Regions from separate parts of the Homo sapiens genome. Here regions 2, 3, 4, 5, 6 and 7 are each linked to region 1. Evidence: promoter capture Hi-C in 16 types of primary human blood cells and fetal thymus (Javierre and others, 2016). All regions are on one chromosome and are shown on one strand. Each heading gives the region's core, a stretch centred on a gene start or on the middle of the fragment in contact. The rest is flanking DNA. Distances are from core to core; before and after follow the strand shown.

Evidence for each region. The method cuts DNA at HindIII sites, captures the fragments that hold promoters and counts their contacts. A CHiCAGO score of 5 or more calls a contact.
Region 2: a fragment that was not itself captured here is called in contact with the fragment with the promoter of SPRY2 in region 1 in 1 of 17 cell types (endothelial precursors); the score reaches 5.8 in endothelial precursors.
Region 3: a fragment that was not itself captured here is called in contact with the fragment with the promoter of SPRY2 in region 1 in 1 of 17 cell types (endothelial precursors); the score reaches 5.0 in endothelial precursors.
Region 4: a fragment that was not itself captured here is called in contact with the fragment with the promoter of SPRY2 in region 1 in 1 of 17 cell types (endothelial precursors); the score reaches 10.1 in endothelial precursors.
Region 5: a contact is called between a fragment that was not itself captured here and the fragment with the promoter of SPRY2 in region 1, in 6 of 17 cell types (endothelial precursors, megakaryocytes, naive B cells and 3 more). The highest score is 10.3, in endothelial precursors.
Region 6: a contact is called between a fragment that was not itself captured here and the fragment with the promoter of SPRY2 in region 1, in 4 of 17 cell types (M0 macrophages, M2 macrophages, M1 macrophages and 1 more). The highest score is 6.0, in M0 macrophages.
Region 7: a contact is called between a fragment that was not itself captured here and the fragment with the promoter of SPRY2 in region 1, in 3 of 17 cell types (endothelial precursors, megakaryocytes and total B cells). The highest score is 8.5, in endothelial precursors.

The regions. Positions count from the first base shown.
Region 1 is chr13:80,339,356-80,343,665 of GRCh38, forward strand. SPRY2 (sprouty RTK signaling antagonist 2) reads right to left here and starts at 1,771. Exons shown (of 2, transcript NM_005842.4): 1 at 1,267-1,771. RefSeq lists silencers at 1,719-1,908, 2,139-2,188, 3,588-3,777 and an enhancer at 3,595-4,310. The HindIII fragment of the contact is 9,098 bases long and covers 1-4,310 here.
Region 2 is chr13:79,551,577-79,555,886 of GRCh38, forward strand. It overlaps NDFIP2 (Nedd4 family interacting protein 2), which reads left to right. Exons shown (of 8, transcript NM_019080.3): 8 at 940-4,310. Among named protein-coding and RNA genes, the nearest start is that of LINC01068, 13 kb to the right of the region's middle. The HindIII fragment of the contact is 811 bases long and covers 1,985-2,795 here.
Region 3 is chr13:79,623,845-79,628,154 of GRCh38, forward strand. No RefSeq gene overlaps it. Among named protein-coding and RNA genes, the nearest start is that of LINC01068, 59 kb to the left of the region's middle. The HindIII fragment of the contact is 5,462 bases long and covers 1-4,310 here.
Region 4 is chr13:79,641,930-79,646,239 of GRCh38, forward strand. No RefSeq gene overlaps it. Among named protein-coding and RNA genes, the nearest start is that of LINC01068, 77 kb to the left of the region's middle. The HindIII fragment of the contact is 2,417 bases long and covers 1,301-3,717 here.
Region 5 is chr13:81,021,905-81,026,214 of GRCh38, forward strand. All of the region lies in intron 2 of LINC00377 (long intergenic non-protein coding RNA 377), which reads left to right. Among named protein-coding and RNA genes, the nearest start is that of LINC00377, 5.7 kb to the left of the region's middle. The HindIII fragment of the contact is 3,363 bases long and covers 665-4,027 here.
Region 6 is chr13:79,661,710-79,666,019 of GRCh38, forward strand. No RefSeq gene overlaps it. Among named protein-coding and RNA genes, the nearest start is that of LINC01068, 97 kb to the left of the region's middle. The HindIII fragment of the contact is 5,202 bases long and covers 1-4,310 here.
Region 7 is chr13:81,004,627-81,008,936 of GRCh38, forward strand. No RefSeq gene overlaps it. Among named protein-coding and RNA genes, the nearest start is that of LINC00377, 12 kb to the right of the region's middle. The HindIII fragment of the contact is 2,757 bases long and covers 712-3,468 here.

The DNA of each region.
Region 1 (4,310 bases), core at 521-3,020:
CCTATCTCCTTTTGGGTCGAGAGAAAAAAAAAAGATATCATATTTCTTAAAGTGAAAGAAAAATGGCTTTTTAAAAAAAGGGCATTTTCCAGGGTCCCACTGCTCACTCCGGGCGCGCAGGACCCAGCTCCCGGAGCTGTAAACTTTCGGTGCAGATTTGCTTGCAGTCAAAGTAGCATCTTTGAAATAAAAGGGGGCTTTTTTGTTTTTATTTTTTAAGTGATTTCTGCCGATCCGATCCCTGGCCTCCTTCTTCAAAGCTGGACTCCCTACCTCCGCCCCTCTTCTCTTTCCCAGTCCCCCCTCCCCTTTGAAAGTGCTTTGAAACCCCCATTAAGAACAGTGTGTGATCAGACTGAGGATTAGGGGAAAAGAACTTCAGCTCTAGGGTGGGGCAAACGGACACAGAAACTGCTTTGTAAAAAACACACAAGAATCCAAATTAAAACACAGCAACAACAACAACAAAAGGAAATAAAAAATTGCCTATTTTGCCACCTACTTTCAGGTAATGGAAAATGATCGCGACCGCTTGATGACTTTCTTCCTGCGCTGGGTCAGCCCGAGCTTCCAAAAATAAAATAAGTGTGACCCAGGCTGACCACGAAGAACGGAAGAGAGAGAGCTGCACTTCCGAACCGCAGAGACCCGGCGCCAGGCAGGGCGACGCTCCCACCCGCTCCGGGCTAGACTGTCCACACGGAGCAGAGGCGGGCACTCCCTCCACCCGGCACCCTGCCTTTTTCTCACCCTGGAAGTCTCCTGCCCCCGAGGCGGGCAACCTGTGTCCCCCAGCCCCACCAGCGCCCCGCCTAGGGACAGCCTCTCCCTGGACTTTGCCTTCCACCAAGAGGAAGAACAGGTTAGAAATGCGGGCGCCTGCAAAGGCAACCTGGAAAATACAAAGTGTTTTTCTCTCCCTCTCCCGCTCTCAGCGCCGAATTCGCGGCCAGTGCACGGCTGGGAGCAGACTTCAGGCTAGCTGTCCTCCGTCCCAACCCCCTAGAGCGCGGGCGCGCGGGGTCGCCTGTCGGGGACACTGCACGGGGTGCATACAGAAGTCCCCGCAGAGGCAGGCCGAGCCCAAGCCCCGGGCGAGGCAGGTCCGCGGGGAGCGCCCCGGATCCTCGCGAAGACCCTGCGGGATTTGAGAAAGGGAGGCTCGGGGAGAGACGGACCCAACTCCTGGTCCGGCTGCACCTACTCCATGTTGCCCACAACGCGCCGGCCGCGGCGCCAGGAGGGGAAGAGCCAAACGTGCCTCACCGTGATCGCGGCTTTGCACCAACCCCTCTCCCTTGGATTCTCTTCTTTCTGCGATGTGCAAATAAATCCAGTCTCGATGCAAACTTTTTTCCTTTCTTTCCAACCTCTGCTTTAGACCAACTTCCGAGCAATCGGCGGGAGAAAAAAAGAGAATTCGGAGCCAGATTCCCCGCTGATGAACACTCCGGGGTTCGGAGCTGGAGACGACTCCCCTTCTACAAGCGCACGCGGAGTATTTCCTCTTTTTTCTCAATGAACAAGAGGCCGAAGCGCCAACGGCAAGTCCCTTTTCCTGGCAGATGAGCGAATGGGAAAAGAAAACGGCCTTACGGAGAACCTAAAGCCAGATCGCCAAGTGGTGCGGCCGGGGCCGCGTCGTAGCGGAGGCGGCGCGGGGGCGCGGGCCGGGCCGGGCCGGGCGGGCGCGGGGGCCTGGGCGCTGCGCGCTCCGCCGGCCCCTCTCCTCCGCTAGCGCTGCGGCGCGCAGCTCTCGGCGGTGCAGACTGGGCGTTGTGGAGGCGAGGCAGCGAGGCCGAGGCGGGGGCGGTGGGTGCGGAGGAGGAGGAAGAGGAGGAGGAGGAGGAGGAGGAGGGTCTGGGGCCCGCCCGGGGGGGGCTCGCCGTTGGCCTGCGCCCTCGCCTTTCCGGAGGAGGCAGGGAGCTCTGCGGCGGCCGCGGCAGCAGTAAATGGCGTCATGTGGATCCGAGGCGGAACAGAGCAGTTGTTGTCCCAGAGGATATATCGCATCCGGTCCCAGCTCATTGGCTCCGCGGGGCTACATTCACTCACACTCCAGCGCCCGCCAGCGCTCCGAGCCGCAGGAGGCATTCAAAAGGGCAACCGCGCCGCCCCGCGCGTCCCCAGGCCGGTCCTGCCGCCCGAGCGCCGTCACGCGGGGCGCCCGCGGGGCCGGGCTGGGCACTGCAGGGTCAGTTTATCTAGTTTCAAGGAAACACTGACCTTAAGGTTTGCCCAGAGGCAATGAGGACGAGCCAGAGGCTCGAGCTGACTTAGGGAACTTTCTCCTTGCCACCAGGAAAGGGGAATGAACATTTAAGACTAATCTGGGCCACGCAGTGTTAGCATGAAAAACAAGTTGCAGGTTTTAAGACTTTATCCAGAATCCATTTCAAGTCTACCTCTCCCCTTTTCTGTTCCCCTTTGCGGAGCGGGTGACGGGGGCTGGGGCGGGGGGAGAAGAAGGGGGAGGGGAAGGGGAGCGGGAAGTGAGGTGGGAGGGCTATTGGTTTATTCTTTGTCTACTGGATTAACCCGATTATACACCAGGCACCAGCACAAACCGCCTCCCCCACCTCCGAGCCTTGTACGGGAGGAACGGAATGCAGATTCGAGTTTCAAGTACCTTCTGCTCTTGCTGGGATTTGCTTTTGATTGTGTCGACTTGTAGTTTTTCCGTTTATTAGAATTTCATTTTTAAGGGGGGTTATCTATGAATGGAGGCTTTTTGAAGAGCTTCCTTACTATTTTGCTTCATGCAGTAGCTAAAGTCTACAGTCTAAGCCTTTTAACTTAATTCATTAATAGACAGGAACAAGATTACTCAGGGCGACAGCATGGGCTTCCGAAATGGGGGGGCGGGGGGGAGGGAAGGGTTGGCTCACTGCAGATTTCCTTCTTCCCTTAACTAAAAGTCATCCTTCATTTCCCACTTTTCTTGCCACCTAGAACATTTCTCAAGATTCTGTTGTCCATGTTGAAGGTGCACTATTCTTTCCCATTTACAAAAAAAAAATAAAGATAGAAAATGCATACATATGCACTGTCCTAGCTGCCGTTCATTTACTAAGAAATGTGCCTTCACGTGGGAGCACCAGTGGAAAATTAAAACTTGCGCATACACACGCCTAATATTGCATTCTGTCGAGCGACTTACAGAATGCTTTTACTTTACAGGGAAGTACCTGCTTGTACGGTCAAAATTCCCGAATAGCACCTGCGATCTTGCCCCATGCGGGGTGTTCTTGAAAGCAGTGTTAGGAAAACATGGTGCTTCACTCGTCCAGCTTTAACCCAATCCATTTGCAGCTACCCTGGAACTAGCTGCCTTCTTCTGAGCTCCTGCTCTAGAATGTCCCCAGCGCGCTCTCTGCCTCGCTGCGGTCTCACCCTGACTTCTCCATGTTTCTCTAGGGCTCTCCTCTTTCTCTAGGGATTTGGAACCAGAGATGGCAAGGGAAGTGGCATGCGTTATTTCCGGGCGCTGGCCTACGTCCCCCGACCCCTAAGGTGAGGGTGGACGAGGCTACAACGGCCTGCTCCCGAGCGTCCCGGGACTGCGGGCGCAAAACAGCTGGGCCTCTCTGGCCACAGCCGCTCGCCGGACGCCCGAATCCATTGAGCCGACGGTGAACGCAGGCGCCGCTGCGCTCGCGGCCCCTCTGGCCACCAGGGGGCGCCCGCCCGGCGCGGGGCTAAGGCTGCTTTCTTCTCCGGGACACGACGCGGACAGGCTGGGTTACCTTCCAAAACGTGTGTGCATTAGGCCGGCTGGTTTAAAATGAATACAAAGATATTAATATAAACGACACAGAAGATAGCTTGCCCTCCTGTCTGCTTGGGAGGGTCAAAGCCTGGGTGTGCAAGGCTAGGCAGGAACGTGCTGCCGGTGTGCGGCCAGCAAGTCTCTCGAGCAGAGCAGGTGAAAGCAACGCCGTCGCTTCGCCTCTTCAAACTCCTGCACTCGATGGCGGCTTTTTAGGAGACATCTGTGCCTTGCTGGTCTCCCAGCGCTGCAGGAACTTTGCGAAGATACATCGTTAGGGATCAAAGCATGCAATGGAATTTAGATCAGAAACTTCCAGCTGTTTAGAGAACCTTATATTTTTATGGAGTTAATAGGGGAAAATCTAGAAATTTATATCTTATCTTCCATGAGCTATAAAGAATCTCATGTCATCTAGCTCTTCCTCCCACCCCCTTTCCTCACAATCTCCAGTTTGCTGACTGGGAAAACATTTAACCTGTAACTTAAGTTCAAGATAAACACAAGAACCCTTTGGATTCTTTCTGATTTACTCCTTAGT
Region 2 (4,310 bases), core at 1,140-3,639, 790 kb before region 1:
GTCCTTTTAACAGTCTGGATTAAGGAATAAAAGTCATGTGAAGAAAATAGTTCTGTTATTGTTTTCTTAATGTGTGCTGATTTTTTATCAACTATGAAGGCTACAACTTGAATAAGTAGGAATATGAAGAAATGAGTAGAAGTTGTCTTACTGGTTATCCAGTGAATTTCTGGAGGTCGTGGGTATAGTAATAGTATTTATTTATTGTTCAGCGGGAGTATCTTCACATAAAGTAACCTCATACTCCCTATTCTACTTTTTAAAGCAAGTACCATGTACTTTATACCTATAAATAAGGTAAACTTATAAAGCATTTGAACTCTATTACCAAAATGTCTACTAGTACTTAACTTCTGAATGCAGGACTATAAGGAACAAAGTGTTTCAAGTTTATTAAGTATTCTTTTTTCAAATAAATAAACTGCATGCTTTGTGATTTGGTTGCTTACATTTTATCATTTATATAAGTTATACATAAGCTTATATAATTTACTTATTTCTGCTAGAGTACTATGAATACATTTGTATTTCTAGATCATGTTAAAGTATCATTTTAAGTGTTCTACTAAAGTCTCCCCCAACCACTCCCAAAGAAGTCGCTTTTTTATTTTAACAAGCAAAATATCTTTGCAGACACTGGCATTAAGAATTTGTCAGTATTAATAATAAGATTAAAAGGCAAAGTAATTTTGCTGTTTTACTAATTTGTGTGATTGTCTTCTATGCATTTTGAAGAGTCTAAAATACAATGCAAATATTTTCTAGATGAAAATCTGCTATAGAAGCCTTACACTTTAGAATGTATTCTGATATGTAGACTTTAATGAAGAGAATATTATATACTTAATATAATTCTTCTATAAAATGTGTTGTATTATACTATGATTTAGATAAAGACAACTTAATACATTTTAAGACTAATTCCTTCTTTGTCTCCAGACTGCATCAACCCGACATTCCTTTCTTATACCAATGTGAAATTTCCAGATCATCTGTAAACCTACAACTTTAATAGAAGACTACTAATAACAGAAGACAAATTAGTGAAGAAAAGACGGAGTTTCGAAATTGAATGGCAGGGTGGTTTTTGCTTACAAGCCATTTCTGTTCATTCTTTAAGTATCTATATTTCATTTGTTTTGCACATATGCATATGTGCCCATTTAAGATATTTGCATATACTTGATAGAAACCATAAAGTTGTAGCAGTTAAGTCCAGTCACATTTGGTTAATCAGTGTTTGATATAATTGAAAGAGTTGAGTGGATAAACAGTCTTCCAGCTTGTAAATGCCATTGACTTCTGACCTGACATTTAGTATAATAAAAATGAAATTCTTAACCATGTCAAATGATTTAGTTTCTGGCTCTTAGACTCATCTGGCAGTTCTACACATGAAACATCTTTTGTTATATAAGGTGTATTGAAACCTGCAGTGCTGATTATTAGAAAGGATTTGTCAGATTTTTGAACATGATATTTACATTATTATTTAGGAAAACTCTTCCTGTAAATAACCATGCATAACTTACTTTCTGCAATGTTTTCTTAGAAATTGTGTCCAGATAGCTTTCACTAATTTTAAATTAAGTGAACTAAATATATATGTGTATATGTATACACATATATATACACACACACATATATATATTTAGAAACGTGAGTGTTAAAGATAGAATTTGTTTTAGGACAAATTTTAAGAAAATGTGGGAATACCAAATGTCCTTTATAAGAAAAATAAATTTTATTTTAAGGGACATACTAGTTTTAGGGATTTTCAGATGGGAAGCTGCATTTTTAGGATTGCCCATCTTAAGAGATCTTGCAGGAAGAGATTGTATTAGATATTATATTTATTTCATTTAAGATAATTTTCAAAGTTAATTTTCTAAATAAGATAATTCTCATTTGTGTTTGTCTTTTAAAAGGCCAATAAAATATCTTTCAGTATCATTGTAATAATTTTTTAGAGTTTAATTTGTAAAGCTTAGCAAATAAAATCTTGTACTATGAATAGCTTCTTGCTTTATGACTTTAGGATTAACTTGTAAAAAACATATCCTGAACTGAGATATGCAAAATACTCATTTTCAAGTTATGGAAATGTGTTTGTGGCATATAGGACTGTGGGGTCTGTGTGTGTAGTGAGAGTGTGTAGCCACTATTATAACTGGAATTTAATTTACATTCATAAACTACTATATTTCCCATCTTGCAAATCATTTTATGTCTCATCTGTTTTTCCTTTCGGTTATATCTTTGGTTTTGAATACCAACATTTAAAATGATGGTATTTTATCTTTTAAACTTAAAAATTATTTAATACAGCTATATGGACCTTATAAAATTGATTTCTTATTTATTATTAGACATTACTACTAAAAGGTACATCTAACTATTCAGGGACATTTTTCCATTTCCAAAAAATAAAATTTATTATGCTTTATAACCTCTTCTGTATTTTCTAATTTTTTCATTGTCTTTGATAAATAAAACAGTTTTGTTTTGCTAATATAGCCTATTTTTTGTTTTGTCTCATTCAGTTTACTTTCCTGCGTAGAATTTTTATTGTTATATTAAAATTTTTATTGTTGTATTAAAGTACCTGTGTTACACCCCTTGAAGTAAGACAGTAGCATGGGGTAAAGAAAAAATATTTAGTTTAGTTGCCTAATTTGGAAGTTAATTAAAATTAAACTGTACTAATAACATATTCAAACTCATGCTGGATCTCTTTCATATTAATTTCTTATAGACCTGTACTTTATTCTTTCAATAATTTTTAAATGAAATTAAGCTTTGCTACATGGTAATTAAATAATTACTAGGAAGCTTAGCTATCAAACATCGACTTACTAAAATTTCATTTTAGCTTTTATGGTATATGTGCTTGTTTTCTGAATATGGATACATGTTACTTTTGATCCAGCATCAAAACTTCACTTTTTGTTTTGACTTTTCCCCCCAAATCTGTAAGGTTCAAGTATACATATTACTGAATCCTCTATAATTGGCATAATTCAATGGTAGCCTTAAATCTCATCATGTAAGCAGGGGAATCAGAATGTTATTTTCAAGAACTTAATGTTCCCTTCAGATATATAAAATCCTGCATACTTCATTTCCTGTGAGCTTGAACAGCTGCTGTTGTGTTTTGGGGATGCTTGATCATCTTTGCACTCTGCCTTAAAGATTGAAAAATCAAAACTCTTGTTAGGGTATCTAAACATTTTTGAGTGTGAACTGGGGATTGGAAGTTAATACAAAAAAATTTCAAATTATTTCTATTGTAAATGAATAAGCTAGTCATGGCTAGGATAATCCATTTTCATGTATTTATGCAATAAACTGAATTTTAAGGCAAAAACAACACTTTTCTATATAGTGTATGCAGGACAGATTTTAGAAACTTAGATTAAAATACAAATCCCATTACATTTGGTTAAAATGAAAATCTCTGCTTAATGGAAAAAATACTAATCTTTAGCCTATTTTGAGTCTATAAGATATATTTCATTTTAGACATGCCTTCTAAGTTGTTCACAGATTTTTACCTGCTAAAACAATATTATTTCCAGTAAAACCTCTCCTAACAGGAAAAGTGGAGTTCAAAATATCCAATTGGAGAAAAATTCAGAGTTCCTTCATTAAATATAATTTTTTTCATCTAGTATGTACTATTTCAAGAAGTGCAAAAAGTAATGATAGTGAATGTGATACCATACTTAACTAAGGTAATATATATCCTTAGTTTGCTCAAAAGAGTCCTGGTTATTCCTGTTTTCTCAGCTTAATAGTGCCTCATCGTACTCTCAAAAGTGTTCTAATTTGGAGGATAAGTTATATGATCATCCTGTGTATAATTGTAGACTGTACCAAGAAGCAACTACCTTAGCTCCACTGCCCTTTGAGGGATGGAACTGGGGTAAGGGCAGGAGCCAGTTATTATTGCCACAGTGTTTTCTAATGAACCATTTGGCCTGTAGAAGAGGAATAGTATTTTTTTTAATAGTTGTATTTGAATGATTCCAGCTTATCGTAAATACTAAACTGAATGGCTTTTATATTTTTAACTGCTGTTAAATGTTATTTTAGCATTTATTAGTTGTTTATTATTTAATTCTTCAAATAGTCATATGAAAACATATATTTGATAAAGGTCAATTGTTAGATGATAATGTGCCATTCATTATCATAGGAATGTCCTTGCCCATATATAAAACATGCTGGCATGTATTTTACTTGTTAATAAAGTTGTATAGATGTGGAAGTGTGAACCTGTGATGCATCCTTTTCAAAATCAGTTTAAG
Region 3 (4,310 bases), core at 1,292-3,791, 710 kb before region 1:
AGTTTGAGTTTTAAGTGTGAGATGCCCAATTCTCCTTGATTGGCATCTTGCAATAAATGCCTCACTTTATTTCACGGCTTTCCTGATGTCAGTGTTTGGCTTTGCTGCACCAGGTACACGGGCCCCAGTTCTGTTCAATAACACCGTCGTGAAGCATTCATTCCTTTTTTTTTATTTTCAAATTCTTGTGGACCAATACTTTTTAGAATACAATTATGAGAAAAATGAAATTAAAAACCTCTAAGATGTACAAACTACAAATTCTTGATTTATTTATTTTTATATTTAACAGGGAAAATTTTGCGTCGTAAATTGTTACAAAATTTCTCAGCACTTAACAGTTCCGTGCTCCACACAAAAGTGCTTGGTTCTACTTTGGATTCTGCCAGTTCCTGATCATGTTGCCTTGGGCAACACATTTACCCAACTAGAGCATGAATTTCCTTGTCCCTGAAATGGACATAACAATTCCTGTCCCTTAGGCATGGTGAACATCATGGGGCAGGAAGGAAGGGGGCTTGGCTTGTAACTAGTGAGATGCTAATTACACAGGACAGAGGGTGTGGGCGAAGTGGATCCTATGGGTGTGATGTAACTGAGCAAGTTCTTTTTCATTCATGGCAAACAAGTCAGTTGTTTATCCAGTTATATTTCTTACATTTAAGGAACTGTCTTAAATTCTGAACTATTTAATTTTGAATGTTTTTCTTTTAGGAATTTTTTTCATATTTTACTGGCCAGGGACCCACTGATGTAGGTCTCAAGAAGTTATATGTATCAGAATAACTTTGGAGCTTCGTCAAGTTATTCACATTGACCCCTTGCCCCAGATTTGACATATCCCCCTTTTCCCAGGCTGGGATCTACTTTTTCTAAGTTAATACATTGTGTGTCTTCCCCAGGATTTTGGCAGGTATCCCATAGTACATATCAAAACATGAAAGGGGTAAAAGAATGGGGGCAGGGCAAAGTTGTATAGCTTTGAAATTTCTCACGGGACATTCTGATACCCCAGCCTTCAACCCTCATTTGAAGACAGTTCTTCTCTACATAGTGTTAGGAGGGCTTACAAGTAATTTTCAGGGACTCACGTTAACTTAAGAAGTACAGGTGTTAGTAGCATGAGTACCTACAGATTGATTGGGGAAATAAGCTGGGGACAACTAAGTAATATGGAGGCCATCTATGTAGCCTGAACTATCATTGCGTGTTAAAGTAACAGATTCACCATCATTAAGATTTAGGCAAGAGGAAGACATGCTTAGCTTTCAATGGGCAGGAACCTGCTAAGTTACTGAACTTTCAATAAAGGATATAGCGGGTCTGATTTTGCTTGGCCGTTTTTCAGATTTTCTGTGCTTTAAAAAGATTTTGTGAATCACAGAATGTCTTCTGTTTCGTGGAGGAGTTGCTGTGAACCTTCCATAGAAGATGGTATGCCATTTTACCACTTTGTTTATAAAATTTATTCATATTGGTATATTCATTCAATTACTCATTTAATAAATTCTTAGTCATTAAATGTAGAAGATAATAACAAAATGAGATGATTGCTATATCCTTTCATACAACATTATTTTGTGATTTTGCTATATGACAAGTGGTACATACATGCAAAAGAAAACCTCAAACAACATTCTCAAATAGTAACTTAGAATCATGAAGCTGCTCAGAAAATATTGTACATGCAGTTTAATCTCATGTCTTTTATTTATCACACAATTATTTATTAGATTCTTATGGTTCCGTTGGTTTGACTTTGTGAAGTGTTTGGAAAAAGGTGTGGCTAAAAGTAAGACATTTGAAATGAAGTCATCTAGTGCAGTAATATAGGGGGAGGAGTTTCTAAAATTTAAGTTCACTGTTCAGGAGGCTGTGGGTTAGAGATTCAAACAGAGCTAAGTACTTATTGGGGCTTAATAATTGCCTAGCTCTATGACCTTGGGCCAATTTAATAATTTACCAGATCTCCAATTTTTTCACCTGCAAAATGGAGCTAATCTTGCCTTTCTTAAAGAATTGTTAAAAGGTTTAAATAAGAAAAAATTTAAAGGCAACTACTATGTTGCCTAGTAAAAGAAAGTTATTATTAAATATGAGTTTCCCTTCCCTTTAGGGGGCTTTTGAGATTTCAGATTTGCACAGTCAGTTCATTTGTCACCATTGATGAGACACTTAAACTGAACTGAAAATTGTGAAGTCTACATACCCTTGAATGAATGAAGGTGACAGTCAGATTTTTGCTCTTCAATATACCAATACTGTGTTTCTACTTCAGTGAGAAAATAGTTTCTTAACCTCAAGTTTAATCATTTGATTCATATCTTAATAGTAGTTATTTTAACAGTACTTTTATTTGTTTTACGTTCATTTCATGTCCCACAAAAGTACAATGAGATTGATTAAAATTGAAGTAATTTTAAAGCTAACTTGAATGTTGTAGTCAGGGGCAACTATCCTGAATCTTGTAGCAGTTCCCTCACTGACTGCTTCTGACAGATATTTTCATGGTTCTCACACAGGAAACAGTAATAACAGTGTTTATTCCAACAATCCTGCTCAAGAGTTAATGTGGTATGAATATAGTAAGTCCTCACGCAACATCATCAATATATTCTTAGAAACTGCAAACTTCAAGTAAAACAACATTTAATGAAACCAGTTTTACTCTAGGCAATTTTTTCCTCTCATTAACTTTATAAAAAAATGACATTGAATAAAACAATATTATTTGAGGAACTGCTGCACTTGTTTTTGCAAGAATTTGCCTTTAAAAAAATGCTTATCCATGTTCTGATACTGTTACATTTAGTCTTTACATGTCTAGAACTTTCCAATCATGTATTTCTCTTCTTTTCTTGTGTATCCTTGTATTTAAAATGATAATTTTAAATCTACCTTTTATTCTCGGTGAACTTCAGGATATAATGCTAACTGTTGTAATAAGTTTCTTTTCTTTCAGAGAAACTGTTAGTTATCTTTCCTCAGTATCACAGGCTTATATCCTGACAAGACCAACCAACAGGTATTGAGTGTTAGTTGTTTTAACAAAATGTTTGAATGATATAACTGAAGTTGCATATCATTAAACAAATATCAACAACAAAAAAGCAGAAAACAAGAAAAGTTTCTAGGCATGAAGTATAACGTATGGGGAATCTTTTAAAATATAATTTAATATTTTAATAGAAGTGCATATCACATTTTTGTGGTTAATCGTTCCATGTTACTCAATCTTCCCATTCAGCGGAATGTGAGCCACTTGAGGTTGCAGGTTTGTTTTAATGAATGTGGGTGTGAGACACAGTTAAGCATGGGATTAAAACAGAAACACTAGTCCATTGCAGCGTTATTCACAATAGCCAAAAAGTAGAAGCAACCCCAATGTCCGCTGATTAATAAATAAATGGATAAATAAAATGCGGTATATACATGTAACAGAATATTATTCAGCCTTAAATGGGAAGGAAATTCTGACACATGCTACAACATGGATGAAACTTGAGGACATTTTGCTAAGTAAAATAAGCCAGTTGTAAAAAGACAATTACTGTATAATTCTACGTAAATGAGGAACCTAGCGTAGCCACACTCATAGAAGCAGAAGATAGAACGGTGGTTACTAGGGGGTTGGGGAGTGGGGAAATGGGGAGTTGTTTAATGGGTACAGCGTTTAGTTTTGCAAGATAAGAGTTCTGGAGATTGATTGTACAACAATGGAATGTACTTAACACTACTAAACTGTATACTTAAAAATGGTTAAGATGGTAAATTTTATGTTATGCATATTTTACCACAATTTAAAAAATGACTCTAGCTTAAAACCCAAAAAGGCTAACAATAATTGGGCTAGGTGCTGTGGCTCATGCCTGTAATCCCAGTGCTTTGGGAGGCTGAGGTGGGAGGATAGCTTGAAGCCAGGAGTTTGGGACAGCCTAGGTGACATAGTGAGACTCCATCTCTATTAAAAAATATATATATAGCTGGGTGTGTTGGTGTGTGCCTGTAGTCTTAGCTATCAAGGAAGCTGAGGCAGGAGAACTGCATGAGCCTAGGCGTTCAAGGTTGCAGTGAGCTATGATCTTGCCTCTGCACTCCAGCAGCCTGGGCAACACAGCAAGACCCTGTCTCTTAAAGAGAAAAAAGTGCTTTGGGAGGCCAAGGTAGGCAGATCACGAGGTCAGGAGATCAGACCATCCTGGCTAACACGGTGAAACCCTGTCTCTACTAAAAATACAAATAAATAAATTAAATAAATAAATAAATAAATAAATAAATAAAAAATTAGCTGGGCGTGGTGGCGGGCACCT
Region 4 (4,310 bases), core at 1,259-3,758, 700 kb before region 1:
TAATGCAATGGTTGTGATAGACAAGATTCTAATATTTAAGGAAAAATAAAAAACACAGTACCTTGCTCAGAATAGGCAAACAATGAATGCAATATTGGCACATGTGAGGTCAACGCAGACCAATTGTTGGGAACCTTCAAATAATTGTTAGAAAAATATGTTAATAAAATACTTTTCATTGATGTTGTCTTCAACTAAAATGCAATGTTAAGGAGGAATAGAGTCTTCCTTAAGGAAATCCTCAATCCCATCTGTATTTTTATATACATATATATATATAATATATATATGTATGTATGTGTGTGTGTGTATATATATGTATATGCTGCTTGTTGGTACTTTTCATTATTGTTGTAACATTGATGCCATTTTTGTTTGCTGAACTGGGTTTTTTGTAATTATTTTTCTCATAATGAAGCACATGTATAATTCCATGTTGCCTTAAGAACTATAAGATATGTCTAAGAACACTGCATGGGTGGCCACCATTGGTAGTTCACCATTTAACCTAGTCCTGTTAGCTACTTTTTAAATGATGAGAAGCTTTTGCTTAATTATACTCAGATGCATATCATAGATGATAAGTAAAGTAAAATTGATGGCAAAGATGGTATTTCACAGGAGTTGAGTTCTATCAAAACTTTTCACTGTTTTGTTGAAACCTATTCTCTTCCTCACCTGCTCCTAATTCAGCTCAGATCCGAAATTAATTGAAATCCATTTCTAGGTTTCTTCAGTACTTTTGAAATAAATACTCAGTACTTATCTGGATAAGTTCTACAGCAAATGTCTACTCCTGAAGTGACTGCAGTGCTATATATGGTCCTCCTGAAGGAACTCGGCTGCTACAAATACCAGCTTTTCTCACCAGATGGTGTTGCTATCAAGCATAGCCTTCCTCTGCCTGAGACTTTGCTGGTCCTCACTGGAGTAAGGTCTCTGTGGCCCTATGAGAGACTGACATATACAAACTGAGAATGGTCAGAACATATAAGAAATCGAGCTCTGACCTACAATCTGCAGCAACCAGCCTAGAACTCAATTATTTACAGTTACCAGCCCAGAACACCAGCCTATCTATAAGTCAGACTTTCAGGAAGTCAGACCAGTATGTCCAGCAACCAGCCTAGAAACCTAAACAATAGCCCCTGCAACAATCAGCTACAGATGCCCAGGACTTGATTAGTAACATCTTTTCTTATTTTTGTCTCTGCATTCAACTTCAGACCAACCCAAGAAAACTTAATATACACCCCTAACCAATTACAGAGGGTGCTTTGCTTCTAGTCAGCCCGCCTAAAGCTTTCCCATGCCAATAGCCTCCAGTCAGGGCACACCTGAAGCCTTCTCTTTTTTCCCCACTACAATGCTTTTCCACTCCTTTGAATTTCTGTTTACAGACAAATGATGGTGGCTAACTCCCTCCCTATAGCTCTGAATAAATAGCCTTTATCTGTTCTCATTTGCTTGGTCTTTATTTATTTCCATGCCTGGCTCCTGGCACAGGTCAGCATGGTTTGTGAGGCTGATTCTTCCATAAGTGTCATACCTGATGAAAGATACCACTTCTCAGGGCCAGGGGTTGCTTCCTCAGTCTGAAGTTTTAGGACCCAGGTTGGCTACTCCTTTCTAGCTCTGGTCATGCACTCAGAGATCAGGCTGCATTCAACCTGCTGGAATACAAAGAGCTAGTTCTGTCTTTCCTTGTCACACTGGATTGCCTACTGGGCAAGGCCTAGATGTCAGACACCACATGCCTCTTTAGATGGGGCTTGGAATACCCTCTGCTCCCCACAACACAGTGAAAATGCTCTTTAAAAAAAAAAAAGTAGGGAAAATTGAAGTGCAATTGAAATGTTTGGCATATCCTCTTATCTAAATTAATCAAACTTCGTTTCACTGGCATTCAAACAGCTTCTTCGAAAGTCACCTGAATGTTTTAGTCAGATAGATAATTAGCGTCTGAAAGGCTCAAGTTAATCTTTCCTATCATTGAAAATCCTATTATGAAATACTCAGAACTGAACAATTGGTATTGCCTTTAATATATTACCTGGTATATGACAAGATACATATATATACATATATATGCGCATACGTGTGTGTATGTGTGTGTATGTGTGTGTGTATGTGTATATATATTTGTTTTGAGACTGTCTTGCTCTGTCACCCAGGCTGGAGCGCAGTGTCATAGCTCATTGTATCCTCAAACTCGGCTCAAGGGATCCCCCCATCTCAGCCTCCTGAGTAGTTGGGACTATAGGCACATGCCACCGTGCCCAGCTATTTTTATATATTTATTTGTAAAGACAGGGTCTCACTATGTTGCGTAGGCTAGCCCTGAACTCCTGGACTCAAGTGATCCTCCTGCCTCAGCCTCCAAAAGTGTTGGGATTACCAGTATGAGTCACGGTGCCCAGCCTAGGTAACATTTGTACATATCTTAATGACAGCTCCTTCAGCCTCACTACTACCCTGCCATGAGCCCCAGTTTATCTCTTGTGGCTATCTTTAATTTTCAGAGCCTGAAAAACACTAGCTCATTGTTTTATGGTAAAAAAAAAAGTTTTTCAGGGGCAAATATGTGCTTCATTTATGGTAAATTTGTGTTCTCCAACTTTATTTACTTAATGTATTTCTTGTTCTTCTGCATATACAATGTCTTATCATTTCAAGGCTGCTTTGTAGTGTAATCTCTATGCAAACATGTTAAGTAAAGCAAATTAAGATGCACCATGTATTGTGCAGTCAGTGCAAATAGCCTAGGTGACAATCTGATGAATGGATAGATGTCTTCCACCTTGGGCCAACTTCACATATTTGTAAGGGAAGACAATGTTGTCACAGCTTCTCTGGAGTTTTCCTTTGATATTGATTGTAAGACATATCGATTTCAGAAACACCAAATTGCAGGAAAAAAATGCATCTTAGCATTGAGAAATATGGTCATTATAAAATGACAAAGTCTCATCCTTTCCCAGTTCAGAAGCTGAGCTTGGTCCTGTTGCAAAAGGCAAAAACCTGAGAAGCCAAACTTAATGTGTTCCTTTCTCTTGCTCCTCAAAGCTCATCCATCAGCACTTCTATCTCCCAAGTGCATCTCAACTCTACATATTTAACTCCTCTGTCTACCACTACCATATTCCAAGGCATCATCTCATCCCTGGGCCACTGCTGTGCCTCTCTGCCATCATCCATGCCTTCTTCCCCTCTATTCTCCAAAGCACCTGCAGAATAATCTTTTTTTTTTCACTTTTTTTTTTTTTTTTTTTTTTTTTTTAGACAGAGTCTAGCTCTGTCACCCAGGCTGGAGTGCAGTGGTGCAATCTTGGTTCACTGCAACTTCTGCCTCCTGGGTTCGAGCGATTCTTCTGCCTCAGCCTCCTGAGTAGCTGGGATTACAGGTGCATGCCGTCACGCCCAGTTAATTTTTGTATTTTTAGTAGAGACAGGGTTTCTCCATGCCTGTAATCTCAGCACTTTAGGAGGCCAAGGCAGGTGGATCATGAGGTCAGGAGTTAAAGACCAGAATAATCTTTTAATAAATGTGATCATATTACTCTTCTGCTAAAACTCTTCAGTGGATCCCAGTTGTCAATCCGATAAATCCTAACTCCTCTATGTTTGGGCAGGCACACTACTCCAAATGCATCTCTGCTCCCCTCCCTGCCATACTTCAGGCACACTGGCCTCCTTCTCATTTTCTTGTACTGTCAAAGCTTTCTTGATCTAGGGACTCCTACCCCACCAATATCATCACTTTCTTCTCACCACTGACATCATTTTTCAGGTCTTGGCTTAAATGTCAACACCACAGAGAGGTTTTCCTGACAGCCCCACTCAAAATAGGTTTCCTGTCCCTATGTGCCCTCCCGCCACCTGCTTGCTTCTATTGCACCACTTTTCTTTTGTAGCGCTTATGATTATGTGAAATTATACATTTATTTTTTGGTGAGTAGGCTAACCCCCGAATGGGAAGCAGCATGTTTGTTTTGTCACAAACCAAGTGCTTGGCTCCTAGTATTGATCCATAATTATCTGTGCAATAAAGACATTAAAGGAATAGAACTCTAGACATGGAAGGCTAGAGGGCTGTGTCAACAAGCAGGGCCTCAAGCCTCAGGCTGAGAGAGAGAGAGAGAGAGAGGTGTATCCAGTAGGACAGTATTTCATTGTAGAAGGAATATTGGCTGGGGACCGTGAGGTCTGACTTCAGGTCTCGGCTTTGCCATGTAATAGCTGCATTAACTTGAGTGTGTTCTTAACTTCCCTGTGATTCTTTATCTTTGTAAGAGAATAATAATACCTAC
Region 5 (4,310 bases), core at 1,096-3,595, 680 kb after region 1:
AGCGAGCAGCATGTGAGAAAACCACAACAGAGAGGGTATCCACAACCAAGAAACCTATATAGAGACTTGGCCCCCTGAAAGCACCCAAAAATGAAGCCAAATAATCATATGCAATACACATCACAGTCATATCCTCAAGGGAAAAAAGAATAAGACATAAAAATTCCATTCAAATGATAGCAAATTACACAAAAAATAAAAGCAACTGCTGCTTCAGATGAGAAGGAATCAGTGTGAAGACACTAGCAGAACAAAAAACCTGAGTGTTGACATCTCTGAAGGAAGACACTAATTCTTCAACAAAGGATCCTAACCAAAATGAAAATTCTAAAATGACAGATACAGAATCCAATAGGAAGCACAATGAGATTCAAGAAAAAATTGAAAATCAAAGCAAAGAAACCGGAAAAATGATTCAGGATATAAAAGAAGAGATTGCTATATTTAATTGAAAAACAAGTAGAAATTCTGGAATTGGAAAATTTACTAAAGAAATTTCAAAATATAGTTGGAAGCTTTACTAAGACTAGACCAAGCAGAAGAAAAATTTTCAGACCTTGAAGATCTGTTTTTTGAATTAACCTAGTCAGACAAAAATAAAGAAAAAAATTGTTTTTAAATAAATAAAACTTTAGAGAAATATGGGATTACCTAAGTTGACCAAAGCTTATAAAGCATTCTTGAGAGAGAAGAAAAAGTAAGCAAATTGAAAAAATGTGTATTTGAGAGAATAATTCAGGAAAATTTCCCTAGTCTTCCCAGAGAGGTAGACACCCAGATACAAGAAATTTAGAGAACACCTGTAAGATAATGTACAAGAAAAACTTCACCAAGACATATGGTCATCAGACTATCAAAGTCAACACTAAAAAAAAAAAAAAATTCTTAAAGGCAGTTAGATAAAAGGGTCAAATCACCTATAAAGGTACACCCATCAAACTAACAGTGGATTTCTCAGCAGAAACCTTACATGCCAGAAGAGATTGTGAGCCTACTTTTAGCCTCCTTAAAGAAAAATAATTCCAGCCAAAATTTTATATCCTGCCAAACTATGCTTAATAAATAAATGAGTAATCAAGTCATTCCCACACAAGGAAATGCTAAGGGCAATTGTCACAACGAGACTGGTCCTACAAAAAATGCTCAGAGTAGTTCTAAATATGGAAGTGAAAAGATGATACTTGCTACAATAAAAGCACTCATAAATACAAAGTACACATACCCTATAAAGCAAATACACTATTGAGACTACAAAGCAACTACCTAAAAACACTATGACAGGAACAAAACCTCACATGTCAATATTAACTTTGAATGTAAATGGCCTAAATGCTCCACTTAAAAGATGTAGATTGGCAAATTGGATAAAAATAAAAACCCAACCATCTGCTGCCCTCAAAGGACCCTTAATGAATAATGACACCCACAGGCTCAAAGTAAGAGAAAAATATGTTATGCAAATGGAAAACCAAAAAGACCAGGCATTGTTATTGTTTTACTATATAAAACATACTTTAAATCAACAACAGTAAAACAAAACAAAACAAAACGTAACAAAACAAATTAAAGAAGGGCATTATATAATGATAAAGGGGTTAATTCAACAAGAACATTTAACTATCTTAAATATATACACAGCCATCACCAGAGCACACAGATTTATTAAAGAAACAGTACTAGACCTAAGAAAAAGAGATAGATAGCTATATACTATAGTGTGGGAATTCAACACCCCAGTGACAACACTAAACAGATCTTTGAAGTAGAAAACTAACAAAGAAACTCCGGATATAAATTAAACTCTTGAGCAAATTGACCTAATATATATCTATAGAACATTCTACTCACCAACTGCAGAATATACATTTTTCTCATCTGTGCATGAAACATTCTCCAAAATTGACCATATACTTGGTCACAAAGCAAGTCTCAATAAATTCAAAGGAATCAAAATCATATCAAGTATTTTCTTAGACAACAGTGTAAAAAATAGAAATCAATACAAAGAGGAACTCTCAAAACTACACAAGGACATGGAAAATAAACAGGTTGCTCCTGACTGATTTTTGGGTAAACAACAAAATTAAGGCAGAAATCAGAAAAAAAAATTGAAACAAATGAAAATATATACACAGCATCTACACAGTAACCCCTGGGATACAGCGAAAGCAACGTTAAGAGGAATGTGTATAGTGCTAAATGTCTATATTAAGAAGCTGGAAAGATCTCACATTAACACAAAAAAATTAACATTGCACTTCAAGGAACTAGAGAAACAAGAACAAACCAAAGCCAAAGGTAACACAAGAAAATAAATAACAAAGATCAGGGCAGAACTTAATGAAATCGGAACCAAATAAATCATATGATGTATCAACAAAATGTAAAGTTGGTTTTTTGAAAAGGTGGTGGAATTGGGTGATCTGAAAGAGGAGATGTAGTCAGCCAACAAGAAGACCTGGGGAAGAATCTCTCAGGTAGAGGGAGAACAAATGCAAAAGTCTTGAGGTGGGCATTCATGAGTGGCTATGAAGGAAGAAACAGGAGCCAGCGTGCCTAAGAAGAAATAAAATTGATGGACCACTGCCTAGATTAATGAAGAAGAAAAGAGAGAATATTTTAATAAGCTGCACCAGAAATGATACCCATGATGTTACAACTGATACCACAGGCATATATGTAAGATTATCATTGACCATTATGAACATCTCTATGTTCACTAACTAGAAAACCAGGAGAAAAAGGATAAATTGCTAGATACAACCTCCCATGATTGAATCAGGAAGAAATTTAAATCCTGAACATAACAATAATGAGCTATGAAGTTGAATCAGTAATAACAAATCTACTCACTAAAAGAGCCCTGTATTAGATAGACTCACACCTGACTTCTACCAGCTATGCAAGAAAGGTCTAGTACCCATCTTACTGCAAGGGTTCAAAAAAATTGGCAAAGAGGGACTTCCTGATACCAAAATCTGGCAAAGACCCAAGAAAAAAAAGAGGAAACCTCAGGCAGAAATCCCAGATGAACAACCTCCAAAAATTTTCAACAAAATACTAGCAAACTGAATCCAGCTGCACTTCAAAAACATAATTCATCATAATCAAGTGCGTTTTATTCTGGGGATGCAGGGGTGTTTTAATACAGATTAATAAATCTGATACACCACTAAACAGAATTAAAAACAAAAACCATATGATTATCTTAATAGACACAGAAAAAGACACATTTGATAAAATCCAACATCCTTTCATGATAAAAACCTTCAACAAACTAGGCATTGAAGAAACATAACTCAAAATAATAAAAGCTGTATATGACAAACCCACAGCCAGTATCACAGTTAATGGGAAAATGTCAAAAGCATTTTCTCTAAGAATTGGAACAAGAAAAAGATGTTCAGTCTCACCACTCCTAGTCAACATAATATCGAAAGTATTAACCGGAGCAATCAGGCAAGAGGTAAAAATAAAAGGCATCCAAACTGGAAAAGAGGAAGTCAAATTATCTCTGTTTACTGATGACTAGATCTACCTAGAAAACTTTACAAATTTCTCCAAAAGCCTCCCAGACCTGACGAACAATTTCAGTAAACTTTCAGAATACAAAATTAATGCACAGAAATCAGCTGTATTTATATGCACCAAAAATGCTCAAGCTGAGAACCAAATCAAGAATACAATCCCATTTAAAATAGCCACAATAAAATTACCAAGCAATTCATTTAACCAAGGAGGTGAAAAACTTCTACATGGAAAGCTACAAACACTGATTTAAAAAATTGTAAATGACACAGACAAATGGAAAAACATCCCATGCTCATGGATAGGAAGAATCAATATTATTAAAATAAATATACTGTTCAAAACAATCTAAAAATTCAAAGCTATTACTATCTAATTCCAATGCCACTGTCAATTCCAAATTAGTAATGAACATAGATGCATGACTGCCCTTCTTAATCTGAGTCATTTACCAGTAATACTGTCATTCTTTTTACTTTCCCCTTAAGCATTTTTCTTAAGCTTTAAATAAGCTAAATTAATCCTGCTTCCCCCAAAGCCATTGTCTGCAATATACTCATGTATTTAGAATGATCATCCCAAGGAATCCCACCTGTTTTGTCTGCTAGTGACATTTTAAAACTCACTCTGAGTGTATCTTCTTGAGATTCTTTTACCCACCACAATTATTTCTCCACTCACTTGATTAAAAAAATAGAGCAAGTTAAGGGCCTTGCATTACTTAATATATTACAGGCTTCATATATAAATGCACTCCCACTATTGGATTCCTACCTCTTACT
Region 6 (4,310 bases), core at 1,161-3,660, 680 kb before region 1:
TAATCTTTACAATGGCCTACAAAGCCTTACAGAGGAGGTAATCAGATCTAAGAAAAGATAAGCTGTTTTACCAGGTCATACCATGAGTAGGTGATGAAAATCTGGGTTTCACTCCAGATCTACTTACTTAGACTCCATTCTCTTTTCTCATGCAGCAAGGCTGACTTTTAGGACAAACCTAGAGAAGGTTATTTTAAAGTAGCAGCACCTTGGCCAGAGAGAAGCCTAGCGATTTATAGTATGCTTGCTTTTTTAGAGAATATATCTGCTGAAAGAATGGGAAAATCATTTGGCCATGGATTAAGTTAATTGAATTTATTCTGAGGTTAGAATACATTTAGATCTACCTTTACTGGGGAAAAACAACCATTACTAAGCCTTAGGGGAAATAAAAGGCTTGTTAAAAAATTTGTCACACATTTTTGACATCAGATATTTCTTTGAAATTGCATTCAGGGGCTGGGTGCAGTAGCTGACGCTATAATCTCAATACTTTGGGAGGCTGAGACAGGAGGATTGTTTGAGCCTAGTAGTTTGAGACCAGTCTGGGAAGCAGAAAAAGACACTGTCTCTAAAATAAAAAATAAAAAAAAATTTAGTCAGGCATCGTGGCATGTGCCTGCTACTTGGTAGGCTGAGGCAGTGTGGCAGGAGGATTGCTTGAGACCAGAAGTTCAAGACTGCAATTAGCTATGATTGTGCCACTGATCTATAGCTTGGTGATGAAGCAAGATCCTGCCTTAAAAAAAAATTATACTTAATGCAAACAAGCAATAAATTACATATATCTTAAAATATGGGTTTAAAAACAAAATCATTTAATTAACACTTCAGATTGTATTTAACCTACGATCATCATTTTATTTTAGAAGATTTAAAGAGACACCCAAATGTCTGCTTCTTAGACATTTAAATAAGTAAAGTTGGTTGTTGAGCTTCTTAGGATAGTTTTTCAAGCATTCTTTTGAATCTTTCTCTCTTATGTTCTTTATTGAAGCTAGTTTAACTTTAGCCAAGTTGTTACTTTCTAGGAGACATCATTTTCTTTCCTGCTGCCACTGCGGATCACTTAGAAAAGTGTTTGAACAAACAGCTGTGTTATCTTTCTAACTGGGCATTGAGCGCTCCTGTTGCCTAAGGACCAATCTTTTTAGAATTCATACTCAATAGAGTCTTCATGAGAAACTGAAATGTAGTAAAATAAATCATAAAAAGTCTGTTTACTCTAGGTCAGATATTGGGAACTAGTGATATGTAGCCATTAAGGTGAGTGGAAGTAAACATCCTAACTATCCGGGATAAAGAAAGTTCACAATAATTTTTCTTGCTCCTTATCTCTCTTTCAATGAGGTGTCACCAGATGGCAGACTGTGGCATGCAGCCACTTCCCCTGCTATGTACTCATCGGCAGATCTATGTCAGCTTACTTTAAGTCTAGCTTTCCTGTTTAACAGTAATAGAATAACTAGTGATAACTTATTTAATCAATACATTTTCTTTTCCTAATATACTTTAAATGTGATAGAAAGTAGCTTTATATAGTATTAACCGATTTGGTTCTGTCTCCCTTCCTTTTCCTGTCTTACTAATAAACCTTTGATCATTAGAGTTCTGCGTATCTGAAAAAATCATGATACCGAGCGAAAAGAGTTACACAGAGTAAGAGATGATTTCATGGGCTTGGTTTGTCACATTATTTATTTGGTACGTTTTATTAGAATTTTTCCCAAAGCACATTTCATCTAATTATAAAGCATTCTGTCAGATCTATATATTTTATAATATTGGTCATGTATCTTTAATCTTTGAAGGAAAACTATTATATAACTTCAATACTGACATCATCGTAACAGGTTGACTGGTTCACAAAACAAGTTGCACAGCTATAGCTAAAGGGAACAGTACCAAAGACTAAAAACACTACAGACAGCAAGTTCTATATTTAGACTTGACATGATATCACGGCCAGGGAAACATTTTACATAAGCATTTTTAAAGCATGCTTGAAAGTTTCTCTGACATGATATTAGTTAGAGAACCTCCTAGTGATAGCATGACATGATTCTTTGGTGCTAAATGTATGTAGTATGCTGCACATAAGCAACTGGCTGTATATAAGCAACTGGCTTACAAAAATAACTACATGGATATTAAGTAAAAAACCTGATGGAAAATCTTCAAATGAGTACATTCTTTCCCTAGGTAAAATGTGTTAACCAATGTAGTTGTTCCAATAAATTCATTTCACTACATAATTACTTTTATTTGTAAAAACTTCTGTAATAGTCTTTCTACAGTAAATACACTTCTCCTAGGGATGGGTATTGAACACAGTGTGTGAAAGGCAGTATGCCATAAAAAGGAACAAGATCATATCCTTTGCAGGGATATGGATGGAGTTGGAAGCCATTATCCTCAACAAACTAATGCAGGAACAGAAGACCGAACACTGCATGTTCTCACTCATAAGTGAGAGCTGAATGATGAGAACACAGGGACACATAGTTGGCAACAACACACACTGGGGCCTGTGGGAGAACGGAGGGCATCAAGCAAAATAGCTTATGGATCCTGGGCTCAATACCTAGGTGATGGGATGATATGTGCAGCAGACCACCATCACACATGTTTACCTACATAACAAACCTGCACATCCTGCCCATGTACCCCCGAACTTAAAAGTTGAGTGGGGTGGCGGGGGAGGAGGCAGTACGCCCAGAACTTTGGATAGAACAATGTGTAAGATGCCGTTAGTTGTATCTCTGAGGATTTTAATGTAATGAGGAAGAAGGACAACAATATATTGTGATTAAAATAGAATCTGATTCAAAGAGGTATGAAAGTACTAAAGAGGAAATATCTAACTCCTACAGGCAAACTATCTGGGTAGATTTTTCAAAGGACACATGCTCATCTTCATCTCTAATTCCCATATATGCCCCCTCCCACTTGAGGTTGGGTCAGACTCTTCCAAAGACAGCCTTCCCATGCCCAATATATTCTAACATCTCTCCCTCCTGCACTCATCAGAATCTCGGTGGTAGTGGAAGATTAGTTTAAAAAGTGCTTCCAGATCTTTCCTCTTTATGGACAACCAAACTTAATCTTGTTTTACTTTTAAATGGTGTGGTCTTGGTAATTTGTCATGTGTGTCTAGTGGTACATGTTGTGGCATGGGCTTAGGGGGAGTATGAGGAAAGTCCGAGGGATTTCTGCAGAAATTGTTCCAGATATTTTTCCTTTTTAATGACTTTAAAATAGAGATATTTGTCAATGTATTTGGGTAACTCAGGCAAAAATCTGGGAGACTTTGCTAAAGACCTCCTCAACTGTCTTTGCCCAGGCTTTCTGTACAGTTCTCCTGGCTGCTTTATTGTTTTCACTAATGGTTTGCGGTTAATTCCTAAGAAAGCCAAAAATAAATGCGCCAAAAGCCAACGAAACGAGCCTACATCTTAAAATTCAACCTAATGGCATAATGATGATGGTTCTACTTAAGCAAATATTAAAGACAAAAAAATTATTTATGTTGAGCCAAACCACTCCAACTATCCAAGGGATGGTAACATAATGAAGTGATCCTCATTGAATTCTGCTGAGGGTATCAACCTCACAGTCACGTATTCCCTCCTGACCACAGGGAATTACTATAACGATTTCCAGAGTTAATGCAAGATAGTTGTTAGAGTAAATCTTCTTAAAATCACAACAGACGCAGTCCAGCAGATTAATAGGACTCCTTGAAAAGAACCAATCCATAACTTGGTACAGAAGGATTTTATGAATATAAAGTCTAAATACTGCATCATGAAACAGTGCATTCAAGTATCAAGGCTCCATTTCTAAATCCTGAAGTGCTGATTGGCTCTCAGAGACATCATTTATTATTTATTTTTGAGACAGGATCTTGCTTTGTCACTATGCTAGGCTGGAGTGCCTTAGAGCCATCACAGTTCACTGCAGCCTCCACCTCCTGGGCTCAAGCAATCCTCTTACCTCAGCCTCCCAGAAAGCTATGACTATAGATGCATACTACCACAACCAGCTAATTTTTCTTTCTTTCTTTCTTTTTTTTTTTTTTTTGTAAAGACAGGGTATCCCTATGTTGCCCAGGCTGGTCTTCAAATCCTGGACATAAGCTGTCCTCCCACCTTAGCCTCCCACACTGCTGAGATTAGAGGCATGGGCCACTGCACTTGACCCAAAGACATCATTTTAAAACCAACTTGATTGAGGTATAACTTAGATTCAAAATTTTCACTTATTGTAAGTGTACAATCCAGTGACTTTTAGTACATTTACAGAATTGT
Region 7 (4,310 bases), core at 840-3,339, 670 kb after region 1:
TACTTAACATAATGACCTCCAGCTCCATCCATGTTGTTGCAAATGACAGGATCTCACTTTTTATAGCTAAATAGTACTCCATTGTGTATATGTACCACATTTTCGTCATTCATTCATCTGTTGATGGACACTTAGGTTGCTTCCAAATCTTAGATATTGTGAAGAGTGTTGCAATAAATATCAGAGTGCAGATATCTCTTTGATATCCTGATTTCTTTCTTTTGGTTATGTACCTAAAAGTGGTATTATTTCATTGTATGGCAGCTCTAATTTTTGTTTTTTGTGGAAACTTCAAACTGTCCTCCATAGGGGTTGTGATATTTTACATTCTCTTTGATGGTGTATGAGGTTTCCCTTTTCTCCACATTCTTGCCAGCATTTGTTATTGTCTGACTTTTGGATAAAAGTCATTTTAACAAGGGTGAGATAATATCTAATTGCAGTTTTGATTTGCATTTCTCTTATAATCAATGATGTTGATCACCTTAATGTATACCTGTTCGCCATTTGTATGTCTACTTTTGAGAAACATCAACTCAGATCTTTTACCCATTTTTTAATCAGATTATTAGATTTTTTTCCTATAGAGTTGTCTGAGCTTCTTATATATTCTGGTTAAGAATCCCTTGTCAGATAGGCAGTTTACAAATATTTTCTCCCACTCTGTGGGTTGTCTCTTCACTTTGTTAATGGCTTTCTTTGCTGTGCAGAAGCTTTTTAACATGATGTAATGCCATTTGTCCATTTTTTACTTTGTTTGTGATTGCGGGGTATTACTTAAGAAATTTTTGCCCACTCCAATGCCCTCATGAATTTCTCCAAAGTTTTCTTTTAGTTGTTTCATAGTTTGAGATCTTAGATTTAAGTCTTTAACCCATTTTGATTTGATCTTTGTATCAAAGATCAAATGGTGAGAGATAGGAATCTAATTCCAATCTTCTGCATGTGGATCTCTAGTTTTCCCAGCACATTATTGAAGAGAATGTACTTTTTCCAATATACATAATTTTTGTCAAAAAAGTACAAAGATGCTTTTGACAAAGCATCCTTGTCAAAAATGAGTTCACAGTAGACATAAGGATTCATCTCTGGGTTCTCTGTTCTCTTCTTCTAATCCATGTGTGTTTCATGCCACAAACATGATGTTTTAATTACCATAGCTCTGTACTATAATTTGAAGTCGGATAATGTGATTCCTCCAGTTTTGTTTTATTTCCCTTAGGATATCTTTGGCTATTTGTGGTTCCATATACATTTTATAATTGTTTTATCTATTTCTGAGAATAATGTCATTGGTATTTTTATTGAGATTGCATTAAATCTATGGGTTGCTTTGGATAGTATGGACATTTTATTAAAAATATTAAGTCTTACAGTCCATTAACGTGGAATATCTTTCCATTTCTTTGTGACTTCTTCAATTTATCACATCAATATTTTATAGTTTTCATTGCGGAGATCTTTTACTCCTTTGCTTAAATAAATTCCTGGGTATTTTATTTTGTAGCTATCATATGGTATTATTTTCTTGATTTCTTTTTCTGATTGTTTGCTTTCAGCATATAGAAATGCTACTGATTTTTGTATGTTGATTTTGTATTCTGCAACTGTACTGAATTTATTTATTAGTTCTAATAGTTCTCTTGTGGATTCTTTAGGTTTTTCCAGATATAAGATTATATCATCTGCAAACAAGGATAATTAGACTTCTTCTCCAATTCGGTTTATATCTTTATATAATGCCCTTTATATCTTTCTATTGTCTGATTGCTCTAAGTAGGACTTCCAGGACTGTGTTGAAGAACAGTGGTGACAGTGAACATCCTTGTCATGTTCCAGATCTTACTGGAAAGGCTTTCAGGTTTTCCCCATTCAGTATAATAGTAGCTGTGGGGCTTATGTACGGCTTTTATTATGTTGAGAAGAAAATTTAAAAATTTCTTGAAACAAATGATAATAAAAACACAAATACCAAAACTTATGGAATTCAGTAAAAAGTAATACTAAGATGGAAGATTGTAGTTATAACTTCCTTCATCAAAAAAAAGAAAAACATCAAATACACAACTTAAAGGTGCATCTTAAAGAGCTAGAAAAGCAAGAGCAAACCAAATTCAAAATGAGTAGAACAAAATAAATACTAAAGATCAGAGTAGAAATAAATTTGAAATAAAGAATATAATACAAATAATCACTGGTCATTCAAGATCATATTTTTTAATTTCCATGTGTTTGTATAGTTTCCAAAATTCCTTTCATTATTGATTTTCAGTTTTATTCTATTGTGGTCAAAGAAGGTGCTTGATATTATTTCATTTTTTAAAATGTTTTAAGACTTACTTTGTGACCTAAAGTATGGTCTATTCTTGTGAATGATCTATGTGCTAAGGAAACAATGTCTATACTGCCGCCATTGGATGGAATGTTATGTAAATATCTTTTTGTCCAATTTGGACTACAGTGCAGATTAAGTCTGATGTTTCTTTGTTGACTTTCTGTCTGGAAGATCTGTATAATGTTGAAAGTGGGGTGTTGATATCTCTGGCTATTATCATATTGGGGTCTATCTCTCTCTTTAGCTCTAATAATATTTGCTATATGTATTTGGGTGCTCTAGCATTGGGTCCATATATAGTTACAATTGTTATTATTTTCTTTTTTTTCTTTTTTTTTGAGATGGAGTCTCGCTCTGTCACCCAGGCTGGAGTGCAGTGGTGCGATCTCAGCTCACTGCAAACTCCATCTCCTGGGTTCATGCCATTCTCCTGCCTCAGCCTCCCGAGTAGCTGGGACTACAGGTGCCTGCCACCACACCCGGCTAATTTTTTGTATTTTTAGTAGAGACGGGGTTTCACTGTGTTAGCCAGGATGGTCTCAATCTCCTGACCTCATGATCCACCCGCCTCGGCCTCCCAAAGTGCTGGAATTATAGATGTGAGCCACCACACCCGGCCGTTATTATTTTCTTGATAAATTGATTCCTTTATCATTATAGTGACCTTCTTGTTTCCTGGACTTTTTGTTTTGAAATCTATTTTGTCTGATATAAGTATAGCTACTCCTGCTTTATCTTGTTTCTGTCGGCATGGAATAGCTTTTTCCATCTGTTTATACAGTCCATGTGTGCATGCATAGGTAAAATGTAGGCAACAGATCACTGGGTATCTTTTTTAAAAAATCCATTTAAACACTCTATGTTGTTTGATAGGAGAGTGATATGGTTAGGTTCTGTGTTCCCAACCAAATCTCTTCCTGAATTTGTAATCCCCAGGTGTTGAGGGAGAGACCTGGTGGGAGGTGATTCGATCATGGAGATAGTTTTCCCCATGCTGTTCTTGTGATAATGTGTGAGTTCTCACAGGATTTGATGGTTTTTTAAGTGTTTGACATTTTCTCCTATACACACTCTCTCTGTCTCTCCCATCCACAGTGAAGAAGGTGCCAGCTTCCCCTTCTGCCATGATTGTAAGCTTCCTGAGGCTTCCCCAGTCAGGTGGAACTGTGAGTCAATGAAACCTCCTTTGTTTATAAATTACCCAGTTGCAGGTAGTATTTTTATTGCAGTGTGAAAATGAACTAATACAGTAAATTGTTATCTCAGAAAGTGGGGTACTGCTATGAAGAGTGGGTATCCAAAAATGTGAAAGCGACTTTGGAACTGGGTATCAGGCAGAAGTTGGAACAGTTTGGAGGGCTCAGAGGAAGACAGAAAGATGTGGGAAAGTTTGGAAATTCTTAGAGACTTGTTGAATGGTTTTGACCAAAATGCTATTATGGTCAATGAAGTCCAGGCTGAGGTTGTCTCAGATGAAGATTAGGAAGCCCCCACACAGAGTTCCCACTAGGGCATTGCCTACTGGGGCTGTGAGAAGAGGGCCACTGTCTTCCAGATCCCAGAATGGTAGATGCACTGAGAGTTTGCACCATGCACCTGGAAAAGCCACAGACGCTCAATGCCAGCCATGAAAGCAGCCGTGAAAGCAGCTGTGGAGTCTGTACCCGGCAAAGGCATAGGGGCAGAGCTGTCCAGGGCCATGGGAGCCCACCTCTTGCATCGGCATGAACTGGATGTGAGTCATGGGGTCAAAAGAGATTATTTTGGAGCTTTAAGATTTAATGACTGCCCCACTGGGTTTTGAACTCATATGGGGCCTGTAGCCTTTGTTTTGGCCAATTTCTCTTATTTGGAATGGGAGCCTTTACCCAATGCCTGTACCCCCATTGTATCTAGGATGTAACTAACTTGCTTTTTTACAGGCTAATAGGCAGAAGAGACTTGCCTTGTCTCAGATGAGACTTCAGACTATGTA